4 separate regions of the Homo sapiens genome follow, and regions 1, 3 and 4 are each linked to region 2. The links are contacts of gene promoters, found by promoter capture Hi-C in blood cells and fetal thymus (Javierre and others, 2016). All regions are on one chromosome and are shown on one strand. The core of a region is centred on a gene start or on the middle of the fragment in contact, and the rest is flanking DNA. Distances in the headings are between cores, read along the strand shown. Region 1 holds the start of ZNF200 (zinc finger protein 200). Region 2 overlaps CLUAP1 (clusterin associated protein 1). Region 3 holds the start of CLDN6 (claudin 6). Region 4 holds the start of ZSCAN10 (zinc finger and SCAN domain containing 10).

Evidence for each region. Contacts are between HindIII fragments. The CHiCAGO score rates a contact against its expected background, and 5 or more counts as called.
Region 1: the fragment with the promoter of ZNF200 here is called in contact with a fragment that was not itself captured in region 2 in 13 of 17 cell types (naive CD4 T cells, total CD4 T cells, naive CD8 T cells and 10 more); the score reaches 10.0 in naive CD4 T cells.
Region 3: a contact is called between the fragment with the promoter of CLDN6 here and a fragment that was not itself captured in region 2, in 1 of 17 cell types (total CD8 T cells). The highest score is 6.3, in total CD8 T cells.
Region 4: the fragment with the promoter of ZSCAN10 here is called in contact with a fragment that was not itself captured in region 2 in 3 of 17 cell types (naive CD4 T cells, non-activated CD4 T cells and total CD8 T cells); the score reaches 7.1 in naive CD4 T cells.

The regions. Positions count from the first base shown.
Region 1 is chr16:3,233,400-3,236,543 of GRCh38, forward strand. ZNF200 (zinc finger protein 200) reads right to left here and starts at 1,759. Exons shown (of 5, transcript NM_198088.3): 1 at 1,588-1,759; 2 at 107-437. The coding sequence starts at 356. RefSeq lists enhancers at 1,798-1,857, 1,868-2,077. The HindIII fragment of the contact is 8,399 bases long and covers 1-3,144 here.
Region 2 is chr16:3,507,615-3,510,865 of GRCh38, forward strand. CLUAP1 (clusterin associated protein 1) reads left to right here. Exons shown (of 12, transcript NM_015041.3): 4 at 675-854. Among named protein-coding and RNA genes, the nearest start is that of CLUAP1, 8.2 kb to the left of the region's middle. RefSeq lists an enhancer at 2,301-2,360. The HindIII fragment of the contact is 1,091 bases long and covers 1,041-2,131 here.
Region 3 is chr16:3,016,476-3,019,853 of GRCh38, forward strand. CLDN6 (claudin 6) reads right to left here and starts at 1,708. Exons shown (of 2, transcript NM_021195.5): 1 at 1,674-1,708. RefSeq lists enhancers at 516-1,112, 1,113-1,709, 2,307-2,902. The HindIII fragment of the contact is 3,533 bases long and covers 649-3,378 here.
Region 4 is chr16:3,097,668-3,101,055 of GRCh38, forward strand. It overlaps ZSCAN10 (zinc finger and SCAN domain containing 10), which reads right to left and starts at 1,627. Exons shown (of 6, transcript NM_032805.3): 1 at 1,523-1,627. RefSeq lists an enhancer at 2,380-2,429 and a silencer at 2,590-2,649. The HindIII fragment of the contact is 16,276 bases long and covers 638-3,388 here.

The sequences.
Region 1 (3,144 bases), core at 509-3,008, 270 kb before region 2:
TCCAATATACACCATCCTAACTTGAATTTATAACTAACACAGAAACCTATCTTAGACTCCAGTACCTCCTCCTCCTCTTCTAGTGAAACAAGCATGTGCTTCTCACCTCTGTTCTGAAGGCTTGAGCTCACATCTTTCATAATAACCAAGGTCTCCTTGACTTTCTGACTGGGCTGGACCAGGCTTGGCTTGGGCAAGAAGGTGAGGAAGTGCTCCAGCACTAGCTGGTGGATGGTCTTGGGCCCGTTAGTGGCATCTCGAAGTAGGTCTTGGCCCAGCTTGGAGTCTGGCGGAACTCTCAGTATAAAGGACTGCTTTGGCTTTGGGGGCATAGGAACCACTTTTGCAGCCATCATGCCTTGCAACCACACACCACACTCGTTTCGCGGGGCCTCCAGAGCCACCTCTTACTAGAGGAAATCTGCCAGAGAGCCAAGCTGTAGACAGAGAAACCAGGGATTACCCAAAAGACCAGGCACGGCATTACTGCACTCCAATATGTGGCATGGCTGGTGAGGCTACATGAGATCTAAAGAAAACGACAGCTGGGATAGGGAAATCATAACTGAAACGCAGTATTTGAACAAGATATGCTTAGGAAGATGTGAAAGGAAGATCCTGAGAATGAAAAACAGAGACTGTGCAAACCTCAAGTCCAAAGGGAAGGGAGTAAGGGTGGAGCGGAGAAGGCCAAGGTCCAGCCTCCTGAGAAATACAAAGTGTGGCCAGGTACCGGTGGCTCACACCTGTAATCCCAGCACTTTGGAAGGCCCTGGCGGGTGGATCGCTTGAGTCCAGGAGTTCAAGACCAGCCTGGGCAACACAGCAAGACACCGACTCCATAAAAAAAAAAAAAATTAGCTGGGCGTGGCGACACAAGCCTGTGGTCCCAGCTACTGGGGAGCTGGGAGGATTGCTTGTGCCCAGGAGGTCGAGGCTGCAGTGAACTGTGATCGCGCCACTGCACTGCAGTCTGAGCGACAAAGCAAGACCCTGACTCTAAAAAAAGAAAGGAAAAGAGAAAGGAAAGAAGGAGGAAGGGAATCAGGGAAGAGAAAGAAAATAAAAGGAAAAAGAAAGAAAAGACAGAAAGAAAGACGGTGTGTAAAACCCACCAGGAATAGGTTAAATCAGGCTTGGAGAAAGAGCAATGGGCTAGAAGACAGGAAATCTGGGGTCAATACCGAGGACATCTGCCTAAAAGCAGGTTGGTCACTGAATCTGGCCATACTGTACCCCTCGAACCGAAGCTCCCTCCGGTGCCCTTTGGGCGGGGAGGCGGTTGGTGACTCTCCCGGGGAGCAGATGCAAGGCCGAGGAGGTGTCCACACACCGCCTGCCGACTCCTCTCCGCCGTCAAAGCTCTGCTGAGAGCGGCAGGCGACATCCCACTAAGGACCGCCGGGCCAGGCTCACTCTGGGGCCTCTTCCGCTGGTCAAGGAACACCTTTACCGTAAAGCTCAGCGTGCGCCCCTGCCTGAGGCGCTCACCAGGCTCCCTACCCGGCCTTGCTCCCTCAGCAACGGACACGCTCCGCTCCCCAGAGGCGGCCTCAGCCTGGTTCCCGCCCTCACGGAGCCCCTCACCTCTCGGGGCCTCTGCAGCCCCTGAGCGTTTGCTGGGGACGGCTCAGAGACTCAGGCTCCGGGAGAGATAGAAAAACTAGGCGCGAGCGGTCGAGCCCTCCCCTCGCCCTTCCGAGTGCCCTCACAGGTCGCCGGCGACTATTCGTTCGCGCCGCCGCCAGTTGAGGAGAACGGCAGGGACTCGGTGCCTTCTGGGAAGTCGGGCGCTCTGCGGCTGTGACGTCACAACCGGTGCCTTGTTTCCGGTGCAGAAGCCTGGTCTCCCCGTTCGGAGCCGGCAGTCTGCGCTTGAGACGTTAAGACTTGAGACAGGCCAGAGGAGCTCTCAGGGCCGGAGGGAGGCCAGGACGGCTGTAGCCTCTCTGTGGTTCTGCCTGGAAGACGGAAGGCAGGTGGTTGGCTCTAGTCATCCACGACGGGCTGGCACCTCTCCAGCTGCGGCCAGTCTAACCCCAGGGCCTGCTGGGAAATGTAGTTCGAATGCAAACAACCAATGGACGACCGTCAGGCGCGGCGGTTGGGGCGGGGCAGGCCCCCCCACCGCCCCACCCCCCGCCCACCCAGCGCCCGCGCTCCCCCCACCCCCCACCCCGCCACCCCCCTACCCCGCCACTCCCCCACCGCCCTACTCTCCCCACCCCCCACCCCCCTACTCTCCCCACCCCCCACCCCCCACCCCGCCACCCCCCACGGCGCCACCCCCCAACCCCCACCCCCCTACTCTCCCCACCCCCCTACTCTCCCCACCCCCCTACTCTCCCCACCCCCTACTCTCCCCACCCCCCTACTCTCCCCACCCCCCCACCCCCTACTCTCCCCACCCCCCTACTCTCCCCACCCCCCTACTCTCCCCACCCCCCCACCCCCTACCCTCCCCACCCCCCCACCCCCCTACCCTCCCCACCCCCCTACCCTCCCCACCCCCCTACCCTCCCCACCCCCCTACCCCGAGGCTTAAAGGAAGCAAGCTATCTCTCCGACCGGAAAATCAAGACGCCTCCGCGGTTTCCGCCTTTTACTGCGGTTCTCCAGTAAAAAGACTGCGGAGGCGGACAGGGTGTGGCCGCCATGGGACTCCGCCCCCGCTCTGGTGACTCCCATAGGTTAGAGATGGGGCACCGACATTGCCCACTCCAGCTTGCTAACTTCTACACTGCTGTCCGCACCGGCCGTCTTGTTTTTAAAGACATCTTAATTGCCCTTCTCCTACTGTCTCGGTTTCCTTTCTCAATTTCAGCTTCCTACGGAGGCCGAACAGAGTTTTGTGTTTGTGCGTTGTATCCACACTCGGTTCGTTCCCCAGTGACGCACTGATCAGGGTTCGGACAACTTGTGGGCAGGGATGGCCTTATTTCTCGATGTAATACCAGCCTCCAGAAAGTTGACAAAAGTAAAAATATAAATGAATGCCTCTTCTTAAAGTTAATTATACCTGACTAATGGCTGACGATGGCTTAAAATATGTTACAAAGAAACGAGTATGAAAACTGTGTGGCACCAAGACATTCTAGAAAAATAAGGAATATCTGCCTTTTCAGATCAAAATTTACTAAAAAG
Region 2 (3,251 bases), core at 336-2,835:
TTACCCTATCTGCCCTGGGCCAAGTTCCATTCCAAATAACCACTATTTTAAATCTCTTCCAGAGTTTGTGTGTGTGTGTGTGTGTGTGTGTGTGTGTGTGTGTGCAAATAAAAATATATATTTTTCCTTTGTTTTACACAAATGGTACTGTATTCTACTTGATGTACTTACTGTACACTACAAGATGTTTAGCATCTTGCTTTACTTAATGGTATATTTTAGAGAACTTTCCAAATACATATAGAATTTCCTCATTCTGTTTACGCCTGAGTGGTATTGCTTGCATGGATTTGCCATAATTTATGTAATTTATATAGGTAGGCTTTTAGGTTGTCTGAAGCTTTGCTCTTTGGAACAGTGCTGTAACAAATAACCTGTACATCTCATTTTGTTTGTGTTTGAGTGTGTCCCTAGAATAAGTTCTTAGATTTGGGATTGCTGGGTCAAAAGATATGTGCATTTGTAATTTTGATGTCTTTTACCAAATTGCTCTCCATCAAGATTGTCCCAGTTTATACAACCACTCACAATGTTTGAGTCACTTGAATGCTTTGCTTTTATTAGGTTATATCCCAGTTGTCAGCAGAGGCATTTTCAACTCACCTACATGGGATTTAGTTTAGACATTACATGGAAAGGGCCTTCAACTTTTTTTTTTTTTGGTCTAAAAATAGGCCACCAAGGCACATATAAAACTCAACACTAAGAAGCTTTATCAAGCAGATGGGTATGCGGTAAAAGAGCTGCTGAAGATCACATCTGTCCTTTATAATGCTATGAAGACCAAGGGGATGGAGGGCTCTGAAATAGTAGAGGAAGATGTCAACAAGTTCAAGTTTGATCTTGGCTCAAAGGTAAGGACAACAAAAGCCTTGTAGTGGGCGATGGAGCGTTGATTTCTTGAGCTCTGAAGTGGAAGGAGTCTGCTACAGCTCCGCTGCTTTTCTTCCTCCTCAGCTGAGGGCAGTTTGTCAGTTTTGTGCTCATCAGCATTTGGATAAAGTCAAAGTCACAATCCACTAATTCAACTATTTATTAAAAGCTTAGTATTTGTCAGGTAGCATTCAAGCGCTGAGGATACAGTTGTGAACAAAAAGGACAAAAATCGTGTGTTTATTCTCTTCAGTTAGGGGAGTCAGACTGTGAACAATAAGAGGTGTGGAAGGCCAGATGCAGTGCAGGCTGTGGAGAATAATAAGCTGGGATGGGGATGGATGCTGCCCAGAGTGATCTTAAATCGGGTGATCAGGAAGGCCTCATGGATTGGATGGTGTTTCCAGCAGAGATCCAAGGGAGGGAAAGAGTGAGTTGTGCGGGTGGCGGGTGGCGTCAGGGTGTCTCAGGATGATAATTTGTTTTGGGCTGGGTGCAGTGACTCACTCCTGTAAGCCAAACACTTTGGGAGGCCGAGGTGGGAGGATCCTTTGATGCCAAGAGTTCCAGACCAACCTGGGCAACATAGTGAGACGCCATTTTTACCAAAAAAAAGAAAAAAATTAGCTAGGCGTGGTGGTACACACCTGTGGTCCCAGCTGCCCAGGAGGCTGAGGTGGGAAGATCTCTTGAGCCCAGGCAGTCAAGCCATGTTCATGGCACTGCGCTCCCGCCTAGGCAACAGAACGAGACCTTGTCTGGGGGGAAGAAAAAAAATGTGTTTTGTGTGTTTGAGGAAAAGCAAGGAGGCCGTGTGATGAGGGTTGGGATTGACAGACCCTCTGGCGCCTGGGAAGCCCCTGGAAAGCCTTTGTCTTTGCCTCTAAGGTGGGAATCGTTGGGATCCAAGCGGAACCTTCTGTGCTTATTTCCCGTCCAAAGGGTTGCTCTGGCTGCTGAGCCGCCATCAGACCGAAGCAGGCGGCAGGGCTGGAAGCAGCGAGCCTGTTTGGAGAGTGAGGGGTGACCGTGGCTTTGAGCAGAGTGCTGGTGGGACAGGTGCCGTCAGGTGTCAGGGAGCGACCACAGCAGCAAGCCAGAAATAAAGGTTAAGCCGTTACTCTGAGGCCCAAGGCCTCAGAGCAGGAGACCTAGGAATGAAGGCCCCGGGGCTGGGAGTGCACCTAAGAGTGTGGCCACGCAGGGTACGTGAAACCACAGTGCACTGGCTGAGCTCCAAGTCTGCTGCAGGGAAGAAAGCTTCCCCTGTGAGGCCTGCTAGGTGAGGCCTTGTCATGGTCTATAGTTGGGCTTGAAAAGCCACACACAGCTTTTTTGTTTTGTTTTTGTTTTGTTTTGAGACGGAGTTTCAGTCTGTGGCCCAGGCTGGAGTGCAATGGCACGATCTTGGCTCGCTGCGCCTCTGCCTCCCAGGTTCAAGAGATTCTTCTGCCTCAGCCTCCTAAGTAGCTGGGATTACAGGTACACACCACCATGCCCAGCTAATTTTTTTTTTTTTTTTTTGAGATGGAGTTTCACTCTTGTTGCCCAGGCTGGAGTGCAATGGCACAATCTCAGCTCACTGCAACCTCTGCCTCCCAGGTTCAAGTGATTCTTCTGCCTCAGCCTCCTGAGTAGCTGAGATTACAGGCATGCGCCACCACACCCAGCTAATTTTTTACTTGTAGTAGAGTCAGGGTTTCTCCATGTTGGTCAGGCTAGTCTCGAACTCCTGACCTCAGGTGATCTGCCCGCCTCAGCCTCCCAAAGTGCTAGGATTACAGGCGTGAGCCACCGCACCCGGCTTTGTATTTTTTTTTTTTTTTTTAGCAGAGATGGGGTTTCACCATGTTGGCCAGCTAGTCTCAAACTCCTGACCTCAGGTGATCTGCCTGCCTCGGCCTCCCGTAGTGCTGGGATTATAGGCGTGAGCCACCGCGCCTGTCCTCACATGTGGGTTTTTAACCAGGAGCGACACTCGTCAGCAAGAGAAGTGTCTAGAGATTGGGGCATATTTTGATGGTAGATCTCACGGGATGAGGCATGGGTTGAGAGTAAGTCAGGTGCTACAGGCCGGGTCTTGGGGCAGCCGTGCGGCAGAGCTTGCAGAGCTCATGGGTGTGTTCCGCCTCTGTGCTGTACTCTACGGGAACCACTGGCCACATGTGGCAAGCACAACTGAGGAACTGAGTTGAGTTCTGCATTTTCTTTAATTCTTAAGTAATTTAAGTGAAAATGGCCACATGTGGCTATTGGTTACTATATTAGACATCACTGCTCTGAAGTTTTTTGTGTGAGCCCCTGGAAGGATGAAGTTGCCATGTACTGAAGCAGAGAAGGTTCTGCACATGCTCCATTTGCCACGCCGATTGGCTGTC
Region 3 (3,378 bases), core at 458-2,957, 490 kb before region 2:
ATTTGTTTTGTTTGTTTGTTTGAGACGAGGAGTCTCGCTCTGTGGCCCAGGCTAGAGTGCAGTGGTGCCATCTCCACTCACTGCAACCTCTGCCTCCCAGGTTCAAGCGATTCTCCTGCCTCAGCCTCCCAAGTAGCTGGGATTACAGGTGCACACCACCACGCCCGGCTAATTTTTTTTTTTTTTTTTTAAGACGGAGTCTCGCTCTGTCGCCCAGCCTGGAGTGCAGTGGCGGGATCTCGGCTCACTGCAAGTTCTGCCTCCCCGGTTCACGCCATTCTCCTGCCTCAGCCTCCCGAGTAGCTGGGACTACAGGCGCTCACCACCACGCCCGGCTAATTTTTTTGTATTTTTAGTAGAGACGGGGTTTCACTGTGTTAGCCAGGATGGTCTCGATCTCCTGACTTCGTGATCCTCCCGCCTCAGCCTCCCAGAGTGCTGGGATTACAGGCATGAGCCACCACACCTGGTCTTAATTTTTGTATTTTTAGTAGAAACAGGGTTTCATCAAGTTGGCCAGGCGGGTCTCGAACTCCTGACCTCAGGTGATCTGCCCGCCTCAAGCCTCCCAAAGTGCTGGGATTACAGGTGTGAGCCACCGTGCCCAACCAAAACTTGTTAATTTCAACACTAAGATTGGAGATCCTAAGCTTCCTCCCACCACCCAATGTCCCTCACAACTTGGTTCCACACCCCAGGCTGGCAGACACCAGGACCAGGAGAGATGAAGAAAAGCATCATTAATCCCCCATCTAAAAGCAGTTCCTCCCCCAAAGCCAGTGGATAACTCCCTGGCCCCACCCTTCTGACCTGCCCTAGGCGCCGGAGAGCATAGCCTCAAGGCTGAGGGCCTTTTCCTATGAATTCTAGACGAAAATGCCGTGCTAGACTCCCCTCAACACCAGTTCTCCCACCGCCACCTGGCCTGCACCTGTGTCCCCTCAGTGTTGGAGGTCGTGGAGGGAATCACTTCTGACTAGGGCCGGGCTGTGGCCTCCCACTGCCCAGAGTACTTTCATTGTACGGCTTGGACCTAAACTTTTCCCGGCCGGCAGCGGTCGGAGGGCAGGCTCTACTCATTAGCCGGGGGCCCCAGGCCTGGGCGGAGCAGACCACCTTGGGGAGACTGGCTGGGGCACGGTGCCCCAGCGCTCAGGTCCGGCCCTTAGGCCTCTGGCCGAGTTAGGGTCGGGGCCGCGCTGGTATAGGCGCCCAGGCCTCTCCCCTCTGAGTGTGCCCCTGCCCCTTTCTTTTTCATGCACTGCATGAAAAAGACTCTGTCCGAGGGCGCCCCGGCCCACCCGACCACCCCAGCCTGGGAGCCGCGCGCCCTGGAGGGGTTCTATAGCTGCAGTGGCCGCAAGGTCCGCTCCCCCAGGTGAGGGGGAGGGGGGAGGGGCGCCCCGCCCCGAGAGGCAAGGCAGGTGGGGGAGGGGCGCCAGGGGTTTCGGAGTCTTTGTCCCTGGGGAGGGGGGAGGGGCGTTTAACCCTTGGGAGCCCCGAAGGACCCTATCACCTCGGAGGCTTGGGCGCGGACCGGCCGACCCCCTCAGGGACTCGCCCATCCAGGTGGCCGCAGCCCGAGTTCGCACGCACCCCTACCCACGCCGCCACCACCCTGCACCCGGCCCCAAGAGGCGTCTCTCCAACACGCACACTAGCCCCGGACTCACCTGCGAAGGAGATAAGGGAAATTCCTAGGCCGAGTGTCGGGACAGGGGCGGAGGCGGGGGTCTTAAAGAAGCGGTGACGTCACTGGACCACCGCCCCGGAGGAGGGGCAGAGACCCTGTCCCTGACGGCAGCGGGCGTGCGAATCCCAGGCTTGTCAGAGGGGGGCGCTGGAGGCTGGGGTCGCTGGGCCCGCCTCGGGCTGGCAGACGTCCAGACTCACCCAGGGTGAGGGCGCCAGGCTTAGGGTAGAACAGAGCTTGAGACTCCGCTTCACCACTTAAGCAGCGCGGTGACATGGGGAACTCACCTAACCTTCCCGAGCCTTCGTTTCCTACTCTGCAAAATGGAGATAACAAGTCTGCATTTTATTATGTAACTACGTCCTAAGGTACAAATTAAAGGGCATACTATTGGTATTATTTTAGAGAAATATTTTCACTGTGTCACCCAGGCTGGAGTGCAGTGGTGCGATCACGGCTCACTGCAGTCTCGACCTTCTGGGCTCAAGCGATCCTCCCGCCTCAGCCTCCTGAGTAGCTGGGACTACAGGCAGCACACGCCACCGTGCCCAGCTAATTTATGTTTTGTTTTGTATAGACAGGGTCTTGTTATATTGCCCAGGCGTCTCGAACTCCCGGACTCAAGCGATCCGCCCGCCTTGGCCTCGCACTGCGCTGGGATTACCGGCTTAAGCCACCGCGCCCGGCCAGATAATATTATTTTTATGTTGCTGGTTTTTTGTTGTTGTTGTTGTTTGTTTTTGAGATGGAGTCTCGCTCTCTCGCCAAGGCTGGAGTGTGGTGGCGCGATCTTGGCTCACTGCAAGCTCTGCCTTCCGGGTTCACGCCATTCACCTGCCTCAGCCTCCAGAGTAGCTGGGACTACTACAGGTGCCCGCCACCACCCCCGACTAATTTTTTTGTATTTTTAGTAGAGACGGGGTTTCACCGTGTTAGCCAGGATGGCCTCGATTTCCTGACCTCGTGATCTGCCCGCCTCGGCCTCCCAATGTGCTGGGATTACAGGCGTGAGCCACCGCGCCCGGCCTGTTTTGTTTTTTGAGATGGAGGCCCTCTCTGTCGCCCAGTCTGGAGTGCAATGGCGCTATCTCGACTGACTGCAACCTCCGTCTCCCAGGTTCCAGAAATTCTCCTGCCTCAGTCTCCCGAGTAGCTGAGATTACAGGCGCCCACTACCACGCCCGGCTAACTTCTTTCTTTTTTTTATTTTTAGTAAAGACGGGGGTTCACCAAGTTGGCCAGGCTGGTCTCGAGCTCCTGACCTCAGGTTTAATTGTTATACCCCCCGGGCCCTTAACAAAGCTGTAGTGGCCAGGCTAACCTGGGCAACATAGTAAGACCCTGGTCTCTACAAAAAATACAAAAATTAGCCGGACGTGGTGGGGCAGGGCCTGTGGTCCCAGCTACTTGGGAGGCTGAGGTGGGAGGCTCACCTGAGCCCAGAGAGCCGTGATCGTACCACTGCACTCCAGGCTGAGCAAGAGTGAGACGCAATCTCAAGGGGAGGTGGGGGGAAGGAAGCTGCAGTGATCTCTGCATGGATTGGTCGTGTGTCTGATTTCTTTTTATTGTTTGTTTGTTTGTTTATTTATTTATTTATTTATTTATTTATTTATTTGAGACGGACTCTCACTCTGTCGCCCAGGCTGGAGTGTAGTGGCGCGATCTCGGCTCACTGCAACTTC
Region 4 (3,388 bases), core at 377-2,876, 410 kb before region 2:
TAGGGCGATGGAGTGCCTCAATCACAGATGAGCGTATTTCTCTGCCTGGCCTGGGAGTAGGAGCTGTGTCTAGTTCAATGAGTGTTCATCCAGCACTTGAAGTTGCTTCAGTGTCTGTTAGCAGAAATTAGGGAATGGCAGTGATTCTGGCCATCTCGAAGGAAAGCATGTAACAACGTCTAGGACAGAAAAAGTCTGTGATAAATGATCAGAAAAATGGTGTTGTGAGGCCGGATGCGGTGGCTCATGCTTATAATCCCAGCATTTTGGGTGGCCAAGGCAGAAGGATTGCTTGAACCTGGGGGGTCAAAGCTGCAGTGAGCCATGTTCGCGCCACTGCACACCAGCCTGGATAAAAGGCGAAGACCCTGTCTCAAAAAAAAAAAAAAAAAAAAGAAAGAAAGAAAGAAAAGAAAAGAAAAGAAAAAAAAAGAGTGGGGGAGGGGGAAGAAAATGGGATTACGTTTCACTGGTTTTTAGTAGCATGCACAAAATAACAAGAAAACTAATCACTGCTCATCCATTGCCGTGCAGGAGCAGCGGGCAGGTACTGAGTGTCTGGCGATTAAGCTCATTTCATCCCAGTCCAGCCCACGCACGAAACAATCACTTCTCCCTTTGCCAAGTGCAAAGACCAAGCTTTGCACTTGGTGACATGCTCAGGGTCACACCAGGTGGAGCCAAGGTTTGCTTTAGGCTGAGAGTGTAGGTCTAGAACACAGTGCCAAAGCTCTGAAACAGAAAAGGAACTGATCTCCATCCTGCTCTGTGCCATTTTCCTAGCCTTAGCCGAAATATCACAGCATGAAACAGAAAAAAAATGAAGATTCCAAATTTCAGCTCTCAGGGCAAGCCACACAGGGAGGCCGGAATCTCCAGGTGAGATCTCTCCAAAAGGTTTCAAAGAGGTGGAATTCGAGACAAGTTGGCTTCAGAGAATCTCTCCCTCCCCCCAGATCTCCAGGACAAAAGCTCTGTTAATATGCACCTCTGTTGGGGGTGGGCTGGGTAGGGAGGCAGGCAGAGGCTCTACAGCCACCATCCAACATTTGAGCAGCTTAATTTGGAGCCCGGGGTGGAGGTGCTGCCACGAGACCCACCCAGGTCACCTGAGAGCCCAGAGTTGGGGAAGGCGGCAAAGGTGGGGTCCTCAGCCGGGAACACTCCCTTTCTCCCTGGACACAGTTGGCAGCTGCCTGATTTGTTGTTTGTTGGAGGGGCCTCCCTCCGCGTGCTGGGCTGAGTGGACAAGGCCCATCAGTCCACCTGGGAGCACGTGAAGCCAGCCTTCTTCAATGTCACAGGAAGTTCTGCGATCTCCCTCGTCCCCAACGCCCCCATCGCGACAGGTCCACCAAGCTGGCTGGCACGAGGCTCCCCAGCAGACCCTCTACATCCTCCCAAGACTCTTCCAGCCCCCACCCCAGCACCAAGGCCTGGAGCCTCCCCTGCTCTCTCCAAGCTGCTGCGAGCTCCTAGCACCCGTCCTGGCAGCCTGCACCCCGACCTCCCTCCAACTCACCACTCGGAGTCCCCACTACACAGGCAGAGATGCTGGGGGGTTTTCTGAGGACTCCAGGGCCAAAGCCAGCCTCCGCCAGCCTGGGGAAGGGCTCTGGGAAAATGGAACAGGAAGTTCCTTGCCCCAGTCCCATCCCATCCAGGTGATGAGGGGCTTCCTAGAGTTAACCCTTAAGCTCCCAGTTTGGGAGCGGGATGGGAAGAGGGCGGGGCCAGTGACATGAAGACAAAGTGAGAAATCCAGATTTCAATCCCAGCCTGTGTGAGAGTGTAACCACCTCCCAAATCAAGACTGGCCTGGTGCCCCTTGCAGGTCTGCCCGTCTTTCCTTTGGGCTAAGAGCTGCCATTTTTAAATGCCCACAGTGTGCTGGCTTCTTTGCTAGGCTTTTCATTCACGTGACTACTCTTTGCAATGGCCTCCTGTGTGCCAGGCACTGTTACAAAGCAGGGGCTAAGGACACAGAGAGAAACTGAAGGAATGAGGCCCTGCTCTCAGGGGCTTACATTCTAGGGCAAAGGAGCAGCGACGGTGCTAGGAAAAAATGGAAGAGGAGGATGTGATGGGGCAGAGTTTGCTCCATCTACACGGTCACCTAAAGTCCTCCCAAGTCCTGCCAGGTGGCTTTTGTCCCAACTTTACCGATGACGAAGCAAGGGCTCCCCGGGAGGGAAGTGACCTAACCAACAGCGTTTGGCCCCAAACTAATTCCATCCCTGTGCTTAAGGTGCCTTCTTGGGTTGTGCCCTTGGCTGCAGCTGGTGCCTTCCTGAGCGTTCTGAGCCCCCGGGGAGCCAGGACCACCTCTCAGGTGTTGGCCGTTCCCCCGGCCTAGACCCCTCGGTCCGTTGGGGCCAGGACCCTCCTGACTGGCTCATCTGACGGGTCTTTGTTTTCCTGCACTTAACACCTGAGCTCATCCTGTTCCTACTTCAGTTGTCTAGTGCTCCCTTCGTACGACGGTCTTTCTCCTTGGTCTGCTCTGCATTCCCCGCGTCCCGCGCCTCGCTCTCCCAGTCGCGGGCTCCTCCCACTCCATAGTTTGTTCAGGGGCGGGGCCAGAAAACCCCGCCCCCAGGGAAGTGGGCCTGAAGGCCAAGGGGCGGGGCGGGGTTCTGTAGGGACGGAGGGGGCGTGTCCGGGGCGGGGCGGGGTGCTGTAGCGCCGGAGCGGGTGTGGCCTTGGCGGGACCAGGCAGCCATTACAGTCTCGGAAGCGAGAGGCGTGGGGCCTGTCTCATCATGCCCGGTTCATTTTTTTTTTTTTTTTTTTTTTTGTAGAGATGGGGTTTCATCATTTTGGCCAGGCTAGTCTTGAACTCCTGAACTCAGGTGATCCACCTGCCTTGGCCTCCCAAAGTGCTGGGATTACAGGCATGAGCCACCGCACTCAGCCTCTTTAATCACCTGAGGTCAGGAGTTCAAGACTAGCCTGGACAACATGGTGAAACCCCATCTCTACTAAAAATTTTTGTTTCTTTTAAAATTGTAATTTTCCCAATTCCACTTATTTTATTTTATTAGAGACAAGGTCTTGCCATATCTCCCAGGCTGGACTCAAACTCCTGGGTTAAAGTGATCCTCCCATCTCGGTCTACCAAGGAGCTGGGACTACAGCTGGGACTCCATGCCATCGAGCGTTCTTTCCCTCTCGTTGCTGAATGATTTTCCTCATTACATCAGTTATTCATTCTGCTATGGGTAGCCCGTGGGCAGTTTTCAGTTTGGGGCTATCTCTAGTGGTTCTCATATGTCTCTGGTGACCATATATGGGACAGCAGTCTGAAGTAGGTGAAGAGCAGAGTGAGAGGTTAGGTTTATCTTTGGGAGGTAAGGACTGCACGTGTGTACTCCGAGGTCTGAGGCCA